Regions from separate parts of the Homo sapiens genome. Here region 1 is linked to region 2. Evidence: promoter capture Hi-C in 16 types of primary human blood cells and fetal thymus (Javierre and others, 2016). All regions are on one chromosome and are shown on one strand. Each heading gives the region's core, a stretch centred on a gene start or on the middle of the fragment in contact. The rest is flanking DNA. Distances are from core to core; before and after follow the strand shown.

The links. The method cuts DNA at HindIII sites, captures the fragments that hold promoters and counts their contacts. A CHiCAGO score of 5 or more calls a contact.
Region 1: the fragment with the promoter of SLC25A33 here is called in contact with the fragment with the promoter of SPSB1 in region 2 in 10 of 17 cell types (fetal thymus, M1 macrophages, non-activated CD4 T cells and 7 more); the score reaches 8.8 in fetal thymus.

The regions. Positions count from the first base shown.
Region 1 is chr1:9,536,385-9,542,387 of GRCh38, reverse strand. SLC25A33 (solute carrier family 25 member 33) reads right to left here and starts at 2,923. Exons shown (of 7, transcript NM_032315.3): 1 at 2,641-2,923. The coding sequence starts at 2,696. RefSeq lists enhancers at 543-1,042, 2,068-2,197, 2,864-3,158 and silencers at 2,268-2,627, 2,648-3,167. The HindIII fragment of the contact is 15,144 bases long and covers 1-3,971 here.
Region 2 is chr1:9,291,148-9,296,670 of GRCh38, reverse strand. It overlaps SPSB1 (splA/ryanodine receptor domain and SOCS box containing 1), which reads right to left and starts at 3,777. Exons shown (of 3, transcript NM_025106.4): 1 at 3,600-3,777. RefSeq lists silencers at 2,843-3,132, 3,673-3,742, 3,813-3,892, 3,943-4,112. The HindIII fragment of the contact is 6,551 bases long and covers 1-5,523 here.

The DNA.
Region 1 (6,003 bases), core at 1,674-4,173, 250 kb before region 2:
CAGGAACGGAAACTTGTTAAATACAATGGCTTCAGGCGCCACCCTAATGAACTACCTACATCTTAATCAAGCAGGAGAGCTGTGCTGGCCACTGCAGATGTACTCCATCACAAGGTATAAGGCTGGTGCCCTAGGAGGAGAATCTGGCAGCCAGAGGGCACAGGGAAGGGTACAGAGGGAGATTCAACAAGACAGGGCCATCCATCTCACAGTGAGCCTCAACAGAGGCTGCTCCAGCATGCAACTCTCCTGGTTTGGAATACAAAGAAAAATTGTAAAAGACCACCTCACTGGCCGGGCGCAGTGGCTCATGCCTGCAATCCCAGCACTTTGGGAGGCCGAGGTGGGCAGAGGGGGTCAGGAGATCGAGACCATCCTGGCTAACACGGTTAAACCCCGTCTCTACTAAAAATATACAAAATTAGCCGGGCGTGGTGGCGGGCACCTGTAGTCCCAGCTATTCGGGAGGCTGAGGCGGGAGAATGGCGTGAACCCAGGAGGCGGAGCTTGCAGTGAGCCGAGATGGCGCCACTGCACTCCAGCCTGGGAGACAGAGCAAGACTCCGTCTGAAAAAAAACAAAAAGCAAAAACCCACCTCACTAAAAACAGTAAGTCAAAATCACTGAGCAGAAATTCCTTTTTTTTTTTTTTTTAAATGATCCTTCTTGGCTTAAAAAACGTGTGAGACAAAAAAAAAAATGGCCAAGTTGTTTAAAATTCCCAAGAAAGACAAATTTATATAGAGTGGCTTAATTTAAGAATGCTTCCCCCTTGTGTTACTCTGAAAGGAAGTCTCTGCCGGGCATGGTGGCTCACGCCTGTAATCCCAGCAATTTGGGAGGCCAAGGTGGGCCATCACTTGAGGTCAGGAGTGCCAGCCTGGCCAACATGGCAAAACTCCGCCTCTTAGCAAAAACACAAAAAAATTAGCTGGGCGTGGCCGGGCGCAGTGGCTCACACTTGTAATCCCAGCACTTTGGGAGGCCGAGGCGGGCGGATCACGAGGTCAGGAGATCGAGACCATCCTGGCTAACACGGTGAAACCCCGTCTCTACTAAAAATACAAAAAGCTGGGCGTAGTGGCGGGTGCCTGTAGTCCCAGCTACTCGGGAGGCTGAGACAGGAGAATGGCGTGAACCCGGGAGGCGGAGCTTGCAGTGAGCTGAGATGGCGCCAGTGCACTCCAGCCTGGGCTACAGAGCGAAACTCCGTCTCAAAAAAAAAAAAAGAAAAAAAAAATTAGCCAGGCTTGGTGGCGGGGCCTGTAATCCCAGCTACTCGGGAGGCTGAGGCAGGAGAATCGCCTGAATCCGGGAGGCGGAAGTTGCAGTGAGCCCAAAGATCGCACCACTGCACTCCAGCCTGGGCGACAGAGGAAGACTCCCTCTCAAAAAAAAAAAGGAAGTCTCAATGGAGACATGGAGGGAAGGGTTGCAAGGGAATGAATGACAGGGAAGAGATGAATGAGAAACTCTTCCAATCTATGAAGACCCACCGAAGTTTTTGGTTAAAGTAACCTGGTGACTGCCCACAATACAAGTACAAAAAAAGCTCAGGGACGCTTTCATCAGTCATCTTCCAAGATAAGTTTCTCAACCATTGTTTGTTGTAAGGAACATATCCAGGTAGGAATCCAGGCTGCAACTACTCAAGCCAAGATGATCATCCCAGAATAAACTATTTTATGCAAAATATCCTACACTCAAAAATTCCTGTGCCAGGCCGATGAGGTCCTCAAATTAATACTCCAAATATCTGTAAGACTCCGAAAGGACCCCAAGCCACCGGCTGTGATAAAGGAAAAAAGAAAATTACTAATACTCAAAAATATTTTACCTTCTATTCTCGGCGGGAGGTGACAAGGGGAGGTGGCGAGGGGTACCATCTCCCTTCCTAACCGCAGAACTCAACCTCCTAAAAATGCATTGTCTCCGCTGGAAAAAAGGTGCCTGACCATAGACCTAATGCAGCTTTCAAAACAAGGAACACCTTACAATTCTGCGGTCTCTGGCGTTGGAAGCGTCTACCAGCCGGCGAGAAGTGTCTCAACACACCTTCCAGACCTCATATGAGTTCGGGTCCCTGGCTTAGCCACCCCGCGTGTGGCCGCAAGCATCACCGTTCACCAGCACCACCCAGGCCTTGCTGACGTCCAACGTCCGCAGACCTTTTTGCCCGTCCGGATGACCTCCCGCGCTGCCCTGAGGAACCTCGGGCACACCCGAGCATCAGCGATCCTACCACGGGCTCTGAGGCGCTGCGCTTCGGGAGAGGCCCCAGGAGAAGGGGGCGGGGGAGGGGGGGCCGCGCCACAGCGTCCAGGCTGGACCGCCGCCGAGCACCACTCACCGGCCACTGACTCTTCAGAATGGGGAAAAGCTGGGGACGCCGCGGGGAGGACGGGCGGCGGGGCACAGCCGCCCTCGGGGCTGCGGTCAGGACGTAGGGGTGAGGAAGGCCCGACCCCCTCCCTCGGCCCTGCCCACCAGTCCCCGACGCCGGGACTTCCTCCTCCCGAGCGCCGGCGCCGTAGCCCGGGGAAGGCCGGTAACCGCCGCGGGAGGCTGGGGCCGCGCCCGGGGCGAAGGCCGAGGGGACCGCAGGCGGTGGGGCGCGCGCGGCTGGGCCCGGGAACTCACCCGCCGGCGAAGAGGTGAAGCAGCGTGTTCTCCTTCTGCTGGCCGCCCGTCGCCATGGCCGCGCCGGCTCCGCGGCCCGTCGCCGCCCGGTGGCGAGAGCGCGTGGCGGCTCGAGGGATGCGCGAGGTCGCCGGGTCTTGTCTCCCCGCTGCCCTCAGGGGGCTGCCGGCAACGCCTCCATGCGCGCGCGGGCTCCAACGCCCGGCTCTGCTCGGCCCGCGCCTTCCGCGGCGTGGCCGCCGGCGCCTCACCGGCCTCTGCGGCGCGAGCCCGGCGGGGAGCTAGAGCCCGGCGCGCGGCCGTCACGTGGCGGGGGCCGGACCGTGACGTCACGGGCGCGCGAGTCTGGGGCGGGGCGTGACGGGGGTGTGGACCCAAATTTCGAGCGCTCATTGGTTAGGACGCGGATGTGGGCGGGGAGGTTGCGCAGTTCTGGGGCGGAGCCAGCCCCGAGCGAATGACTGGGGAGAGGGGCTGGCCTAGGCCGGAGCGTGGAGGCAGTGGAAACTGGCTGTGACTGACTGGTCCTCGCTCCTCAGAGAAGCCTCGCGAGGCCCTAGGCCTTGCCTTATTTTAAAAGTTTACTTTGTGATATTTACGTGTGCAAAAGGTGTACAAATTACGTGTTACATCTCACACCTCTGTACTCACCACCCCGTTTAGGGAAACAAAAACATAATCTAAAAATCTATAATCTAAACAGCCTTAGATAATCAGTGAGGCCCTCACGGTGGCTCACGCCTGCAATCTCAACACTTTGGGAGGCCGAGGCGGGCGGGCGGATCGCCTGAAGCCAGGAGTTACAGACCAACCTGTCCAAGACGGCGAAACCGTGTCTCTACTAGAAATACAAAAGTTAGCCGGACGAGGCGGCGCACCCCTGTCATCCCAGCTACTTGGGTGGCTGAGGCTGGATAATCGCTTGAGCCCGGGAGGCGGGGGCTGCAGTGAGCCAAGATCTTGCCACTGCACTCCAGCCTGGACGACAAAGCGAGACTCTGTCTCAAATAATTAATAATCATTATCATTATGTGGATTTTTGATCTCCCTATAAGTAGTAGTATATGCTGCGTATATTTTGCAGTATGCTTTTTGCTTCTTTTCTGATCATCTCCAGCCCAGACCTAGATATCCAAACTGCTTCTCTCAGCCTATGTCACTGGGTCATTGTCATACTCAACCTGACATCTTCTAATCTCCAGGTCTCCCCCAGATGGAGACTTTCCTGGCCGCCTTTGCAGCGCAGTCTGTCACACGACTATAGAACCAGGGCTTCTGCAGTTAGTTTGTTGATTTATTTAAGTTGTCCTTCCCATACAGGAATGTAAGCTTCAGGAGAGCAGGGACCTTATTTCTTTTGTTCACAGTTGTTCCTGACACAGTACCTGCCACCTAGTAATGCCCAAGGAGCTAATGAATAAAGGTCCCAAATTGAACTTATCATTCTTCCCCTCCCCCAAACCTGCTCTACCTCTATTTCCTGTCCTGGCAGTGACACCACTGACTGCACAGGCACCAGTGCCAGAAGCTTTCCTGTTACCTTGGACTATGTCTCTCTGTCTGTCTCTCTCTCAGCAGACCACCATTCACCTGCAGAACGTACCAACCCTTTCTCTTCCGTCTCTCAGAGCTCCGGAAAGCTGTACCTTGACCAGAACAAGCAGTTAGATGTCCTGTGTGTAAACATAGAGAGCTTAAGTAGGAGGGAATTGTGTGGAAACGTGGGAGCTAGCCAGCCAATCTGTATTTGATTGCTGGGACTCTTTAAATAAAAACAGCTCTTAGGAGCAGTCCTCCAAAATGCAAATACAGTGGTTACTATTAAAGCCATTGCTCCCAGGCCTAGGAGAAGGGGAAGCCATACTAGGGCATGAGATATCTGAGAAAAAGAAGTAAAGAAAACCCAGCACAGTGGCCCACTCCTGTCATCCCAGCACTTTGGGAGGCTGAGAAGAGTGGATGACTTGAGTCTAGTAGCTCAAGACCAGCCTGGATAACGTGGCAAAACCCTGTCTCTACAAAAGAAAAAAAAAAGTAAAAATAAATAATTTTTTATTTTTATTATATGTTTTTTTTAATTTTTATTTATTTATTTTGAGATGGAGTCTTGCTCTGTCACCCAGGCTGGAGTGCAGTGGCACGATCTCGTCTCACTGCAACCTCTGCCTCCCGGGTTCAAGCAATTCTCCTGCCTCAGCCTCCTGAGTAGCTGGGATTACAGGCATGCACCACCACACTGGGCTAATTTTTGTATTTTTAGTAGAGACAGGGTTTCACCATGTTGGTCAGGCTGGTCTCAAACTCCTGACCTCGTGATCCGCCCACCTCAGCCTCCCAGAGTGCTGGGGTTACAGGCGTGAGTCACCGCACCTGGCCTATTATTTTAAGAGGAGGCCTCATTCTGTCACCCAGGCTGGAGTGCAGTGGCACCATCTTGGCTCACTGCATACTCCACCTCCCAGATTCAAGCGATTGTCCTGCCTCAGCCTCCTGAGTAGCTGGGATTACAGACATATGCCACCATGCTTGGCTAATTTTTGTTGGTTTTTTCTTTTTTTTTTTTTTTGACACGGTGTTTCACTCTTGTTGCCCAGGCTGGAGTGCAATGGTGCGTTCTCGGCTCACTGCGACCCCCACCTCTTGGGTTCAAGCGTTTCTCCTGCCTCAGCCTCCCGAGTAGCTGGGATTACAGGCGCCCGCAACCATGCCTGGTTAATTTTTGTATTTTTAGTAGAGACAGGGTTTCACTATGTTGGCCAGGCTGGGCTCGAACTCCTGACCTCAGGTGATCCGCCCGCCTTGGCCTCCCAAAGTGCTGAGATTACAGGTGTGAGCCACCACGCCTGGCTTGAACCTGCTATTTTCCCTGACTAGGATGGCCCCCTTCCTAGACTTCTAGAGCTCCTCTGACACCAGCTCAGGCATTGGCCATGGCCATGTACTGGGTATACAACAGAGATTCCAATAGATAAAAACCTTTAATGAAACATTGGCAATCAAATCCAGCAATATAGAAAAAGGATAATACATCAGGACGAAATGAGAGATGCCCAGGAATTAGAGATTGGTTTAACATTCAAAAAATCAATCCATATAATTCAGCATATTAAGAGAATAACAGGGACACATGTTCCCAGGACCTCCTGGGGCTGTGTCAACAGCAAAAAAAAAAAAAAAAAAAAAAAAAGGAAAAAAAGAAAAAAAAAACAGTGAAAGAGAAAGAGAGAATAATGGAAAAAAACCTGATGACCATGTAAATTGATGCAGAAAAGCATTTGAAAAAACTGAACACCTATTCATGAAAAAAAGCTCTCAGCAAACAAGGAACAGGAGGGAATTCCTCTATCTGATATAAAGCGTCTA
Region 2 (5,523 bases), core at 2,528-5,027:
ACATCTTGTATTTGCTTCAAAATAATCCAGCGTGTGTGTGTATGTGTGCATATATGTGTGTGCATATGTATGTGTGTGTACACATGTGCACATCTTCTGTGAGCATAAGTATGCATGTGCATATGTGAGTATGTGTATGTGTGTGCATGCGAGGTGAGGAAACCTGATCGCTCATTATACTCTGCCTCTAACTTTGGTGTGTTTGACATTTTCCATAATAACAAAAAATTTCACTAAAAAAATGAGCCCATGCTTCTTGAAGAAAAGGCTCAGGTGGTGGAGGTGACAAACTTACTGGTGAAGGGCTTGGGTGCCAAGTCTGGATTCGAGTTTTGGCTCCACCATTCCCTTGCCGCGAGACCTTAGCCAAGTTACCTGCAATCCTCAGCAGAATGGACATGGAGGCAAAACCCACTTCTCAGGGTCCTCAGGAAGCCCATGAGTCAATGCGTCAAGGACTCAGATCAGAGCCAGTACTCGCACGCACCGTGAAACCATGAAACCATTTCCCGCTATTATTATGCTTAGGATTCAAACAAAGTCACGTCCATAAAGCACTCTGTAGCACAGAGCCGGGCACCTGGCTGCCAGTGGAACTTTAGACTGGGGGAGATGTTATCAGATAACTGGGGGAGGGGAGAGCACTCACTGAAAGTCCAAAATCGAAGTCCCTTAGAGTCTGGATTTCACTGATCTAGTGTTGAGGGCTGGGGAGAGGATAACACACCCCTGGGCAGACTGAGGCACACCTGTACCTGACCTTGTGCTGTCGTCTGATAAAATTTTTCAGAACCAAAAGATACACTGAGTCATGCACACCAGCTACAACCTATTTCTCGAGAAAAATTGATACAAAATGCCCAGACGAACTCATGAACACCGTAAGAATCAGAGGTTTCGCTGAATTTGAAAATGCGTCTGCAGGCAAGTTTCCATCCACCCAGGAGGAGGGGCAGGTGCAGGAAGGGAGCACGGCACACACCATGGGGGTGGGAGGGCAGCGCTGGCTTCCACGGGCTAGGCCCCCACCCCATTCCCCAGCTCTGGTGAAGAAATTCAACATCTGTGATGATTCCAAGGGGGTGAGATTCTGCAGCAGCCCAGAGGGACCCACTGAAGGGTGGATCCAGCCTTACTACAGCAGCCCAAGAAACGGCCTCACCCAGCTCCAAAGTGACATCACCAGGGCCCCAGGCAGGCCCACCCCTTCCTAAGAGCCCTGAAACCCACTGATTCTTCCCAGGGCCAGGTCTCTCTTAAGCCGGCATGGCACCCGCCTTGCTCCCTGCTCGGGGCTGTCTGAGCCACTGGGGCCAACATGCTACTGCTTTTGTTTTCTCTGCTGCTAGGGTGGTAGCCAGACTGGAAAAGGAAGACTTGTAAAGTGATTGCCTTAGTCCACTCCACACCTCCCCAACCGCACGCGCGCACACACACACACACACACACACACTCACACTCTCACACACACACACACACTCCATCTACTGGGTAAAGTGCTCCCTGCAGAAGAAAAGCAGCTGTAAGAGAGCAGGAGTGCTTTAAATGATCTAATCCAGCCCATCACTTCACAGCTGGGGAGACACGAAGTGCCTGGCCCATGACCTCAGTGCTGGGGACAGTAACCAAGAGCAACAGTTTCAGGACTGGGGAGTCTTGGTCCACAGCCCTGGCTGTGCAGTCTGGGTAAGTGAACCGCCCTCTCTGGGCCTCTCTAGGACAGGCTGGCCTAGACAGTAAGACAGGACTTCCCTGACTCCAAAATTCCTCAGTGTGGAGAGACCACCTGTGCTGCCCATGCTTAGCCCAGGGCTTTCCACCACTGGGAGGGGGGTCTGAGGAGGGGGACAGGGCAGAAGGGAGAGGCCCCCATCCCCTTCCTTGCTTGCTGTTCTCCTCACACCCCACGATGAGAAATGAAGTTGTGGGCCCAGCCCCCCCAACGAGAAAATTCTTCCAAGGACATCAAACCTTAGTCACCAGGGATGGCGCTTTTACCATGAACACCTGTTAAAACTCAACTCATGACCAGTTTCTGATGCTACAGACTGGAGTGTTTAATTAAATATTACTCACTCAGGAAGCAGCCCCTGCCAACTCACCCCCAAACTGTGTAGTTCATTTTCAGAGAAATGGAGAGAGGAAGAGCCTGCGCTCTCCTCGGGGGCACCAGCAGGGCTTGCCTAGTGGGGTGTCTGTGGCCCAGCATGCCCGGCTATCCAGAACCAAGTAAAGAAATCACCATGAGGAGCAGTACCTAGGAACCAGAGGGCCCCCTGGATGGTCCCCACACACACTCACAGAGAAACACACACAAAGACACACAGACACACACTTGGAGACACACAGACACTCACACATACACAGACGCACTCAGAGACACAGACACAGAGACAGACACAGAGACACGTGTGGACACACAAAGAGACACAAAGACACACACACGCAAAGACACACACAGACACAAAGACACAGAGACACACATTTGCAGAGACAGACACTCAGAGACACAAACTTGCAGAGACACACACCCAAAGACACATACACACTCACACACAGACACACACAAAGACACACAGACATACACAGAGAGGCACACACAAATACACAAAGACGCACTCAGACACACACACACACACACAGTCACTTAGAGTCTCAGGCACACATTGACAGACACACAGACTCACACACACACTCAGAGGCACATAAATACACAGATGCACTTAGAGACACACTCACACACACACCCACATGAACACACAGACACACTCATACGCAGGCACATATTCACAAGGACATGCACAAACACACACGCAGATGCACTCTCAGAGACACCCGCTCTTCCTGCAGACCCGCACCCTCCTCTCGGGGCCGTCCCGTCCTCACCGGAACCTGGACGCCACCGAGCCCAGTACACGCCCGGGGACGGTGACCCATCCGCGGTTCCTCCCGCGGGCCCAGGCCGCCCTTGTTTTTCTGATTTAATCGATTTCCTGACAACCCTCCGGCTCTCCCTCCGCTGCTGGGAGAAGCCGCGGCGGCTCCGGGGCGGCGGGGAGGGCGGCGCTCGGGTGTCCCCGGCAGGCTCCCTGGGGGAGGCGCTGCGGGAGGGTGGGGGCGCCCCGACGGGGGACCGGGCCGCGCCGCCAATCCCGACTCGGACTGGCGGGAAAAGCGAAACTAACTCAGCCGAGCGGGGTCCCGCTTTCCCCGGGCTAAAGGGGGGACGGGTCGGCGGCCCCGGAGCGCCCCAGCCCCTCCTCGGGACCGCAACTCGTTGCGACGGTCCCCGCGCCCCGAGACCCCCGCCGCGCCTCGCCCCGGGACCCCCTGCCCTGCAGCGGCGGCAGCGCGGGGCGGGCCTGGGCCCCTCTCCCAGGAGCCGCGGCGAGGGAGGCGCCCCCGGAGCCACCGCGGGAGGGGCCGCGCCCCGAGTCCCCATCCCGTACTCCACCCGCTCCCCCGCGCCCGGCCCCGCGCCACCCACTCGGTCCCCCAGCGGCGCGATCCCCGCGTCCGCCCTCGCCCGGCCCCCCGCGCCTCCCCCTCCCGGGCCGGTCGCCCACCCATCGGGGTCCCAGGTGCCCCGCGCCGCCTACCGCGCCCGGGGTGCCGCCGCCGCCGCTGCTCTCCAAGGCCGAGGAGGCTCGGGCGCCCGGGCCGCGCCCGCCGCAGGGAGCGAAGTCGCCTCCTCCCCGCGGCCCCGGCCCCGGCGCCGGCGCCTGGAGCCTGGTTCCTGCTGCGAGCGCGCAGGCTGCCCGAGCGCGACTTCTGTGCGGAGGAGAAAAAGCAACCGACGGCTTTAAAGTGAAAAAAAAGAGAAAAGCGCCGGTGGGCGGGGCCGTCCCTGCCCCGCCCCGCCCCGCCCCGCCCCCGACCTCGGGCGCACGGACCACTCAGCACTGCAGGGAAGGCCGGGGGCGCGGGGCGCGGGGCGCGGGGCGCGTCAGCCCGGCGCTGGTTCGGCCGCCCCCTCCGCCCCCTTAGTCCGCAGCCCTCTCCCGAGCCGCCGCCCTGGTGTTGCCGGCCCGAAGCTCGGGTCCCTCCGGAGGCGTCTTTGGGAAACGCGTGGCGCAGGGCCTGGGTTGCAGCCGTGGGAGGCTGGAGTGGGGGCGGGGGTCTTACGAGAAGGAGAAATCTTCGCGGAGAGTGGGGTTGTCCCAGGAACCCCGAGCAAGGCCTCGCCGGCCTCCTCTGAAGTGCCCAGCGGGGACGAGTGGGCAGCCGCCGGGGGTCCAGGGAGCCTCCTGCAGCGCTGTTTCGGCCGCTCGCGTTTCGGTGCCCACGGGGACGGGGGCCTCGGACCTCGAGACCCTGAGGGCGCGGGCACCTGGCATCCGCAGGGCTGCTCCCTGAACAGGTCCCAGCCTCTGGGGACTTGTCCTGTGGCTCTAGCTCGTTCAAGGAATTTTCCTCCCCCTTCCCCGAACAGAGCAGTCACTTGGGACTGGGAAGATTTTAAAGACTTTGCTGTTTTGAGAGCAAAATCTCCTGGCATTCCCCACCCCTCGCTGTGTAGTGTCCATTGAAAACGGTGAGGAGTTAGCCTTTCTGGGGGAGCCGAAACAAATAGCGGGGCTTCCGTAGTTACTGTGTCTTTACCATAACCCAGTACAGTGAGGGTGGGACTAATGACACACTCACTGTAAAGGCGAGGAAACAGTGCCTGGCCCGAGGCCAGCTGTCCAGAGCTTGGAACCCAATTGAACTGTGAGATTACAAAGTTTGATGTCTCTCATTTTACGGTGCTGAAAATCAGTTTGGTTTAGCTTTGTTTGAACTCAGAATAGGATTACGGAGACTCAACCAACTGCCCTGGGCTGGGCGGGCCTGAGTGGGCATTCTGACTTTCCAGGTGCCAGCGGTTTAGGAATGTTGAACCCAGACTAGTCAGGTGGGCAGCCATGGCCAGCAGCTTAGGGGTGCTTCCCATTTAAAAGATCACTTGAGGCTGGAGGTGGTGGCTCTCACGCCCTTAATCCCCACACTTTGGGTGGCTGAGGCAGGCAGATCACTTAAGCCCAGGAGTTCAAGAGCAGCCCGGGCAACAGAGCAAGACACAGACTCTGCACAAAAATTAAATAATAATAATAATAATTGGCCGGGCATGATGGCTCACACCTGTAATCCCAGCGCTTTGGGAGGCTGAGGCAGGTGGATCACCTGAGGTCAGAAGTTCAGGACCAGGCTGGGCTTGGTGGCTCACACCTGTAATCCCAGCACTTTGGGAGGTCGAGGCGGGCGGATCACGAGGTCAGGAGATGGAGACCATCCTGGCTAACACGATGAAACCCGTCACTACTACAAATATAAAAAATTAGCCAGGCGTGGTGGCGGGCATCTGTAAGTCCCAGCTACTTGGGAGGCTGAGGCAGGAGAATGGTGTGAACCCGGGAGGCAGAGATTGCAGTGAGCCGAGATTGCGCCACTGCACTCCAGCCCAGGTGACAGAGCGAGACTCCGTCTCACAAAAAAAAAAAAAAAAAAAAAAAAAGAAGTTCAGGACCAGCCTGGCCAACATGG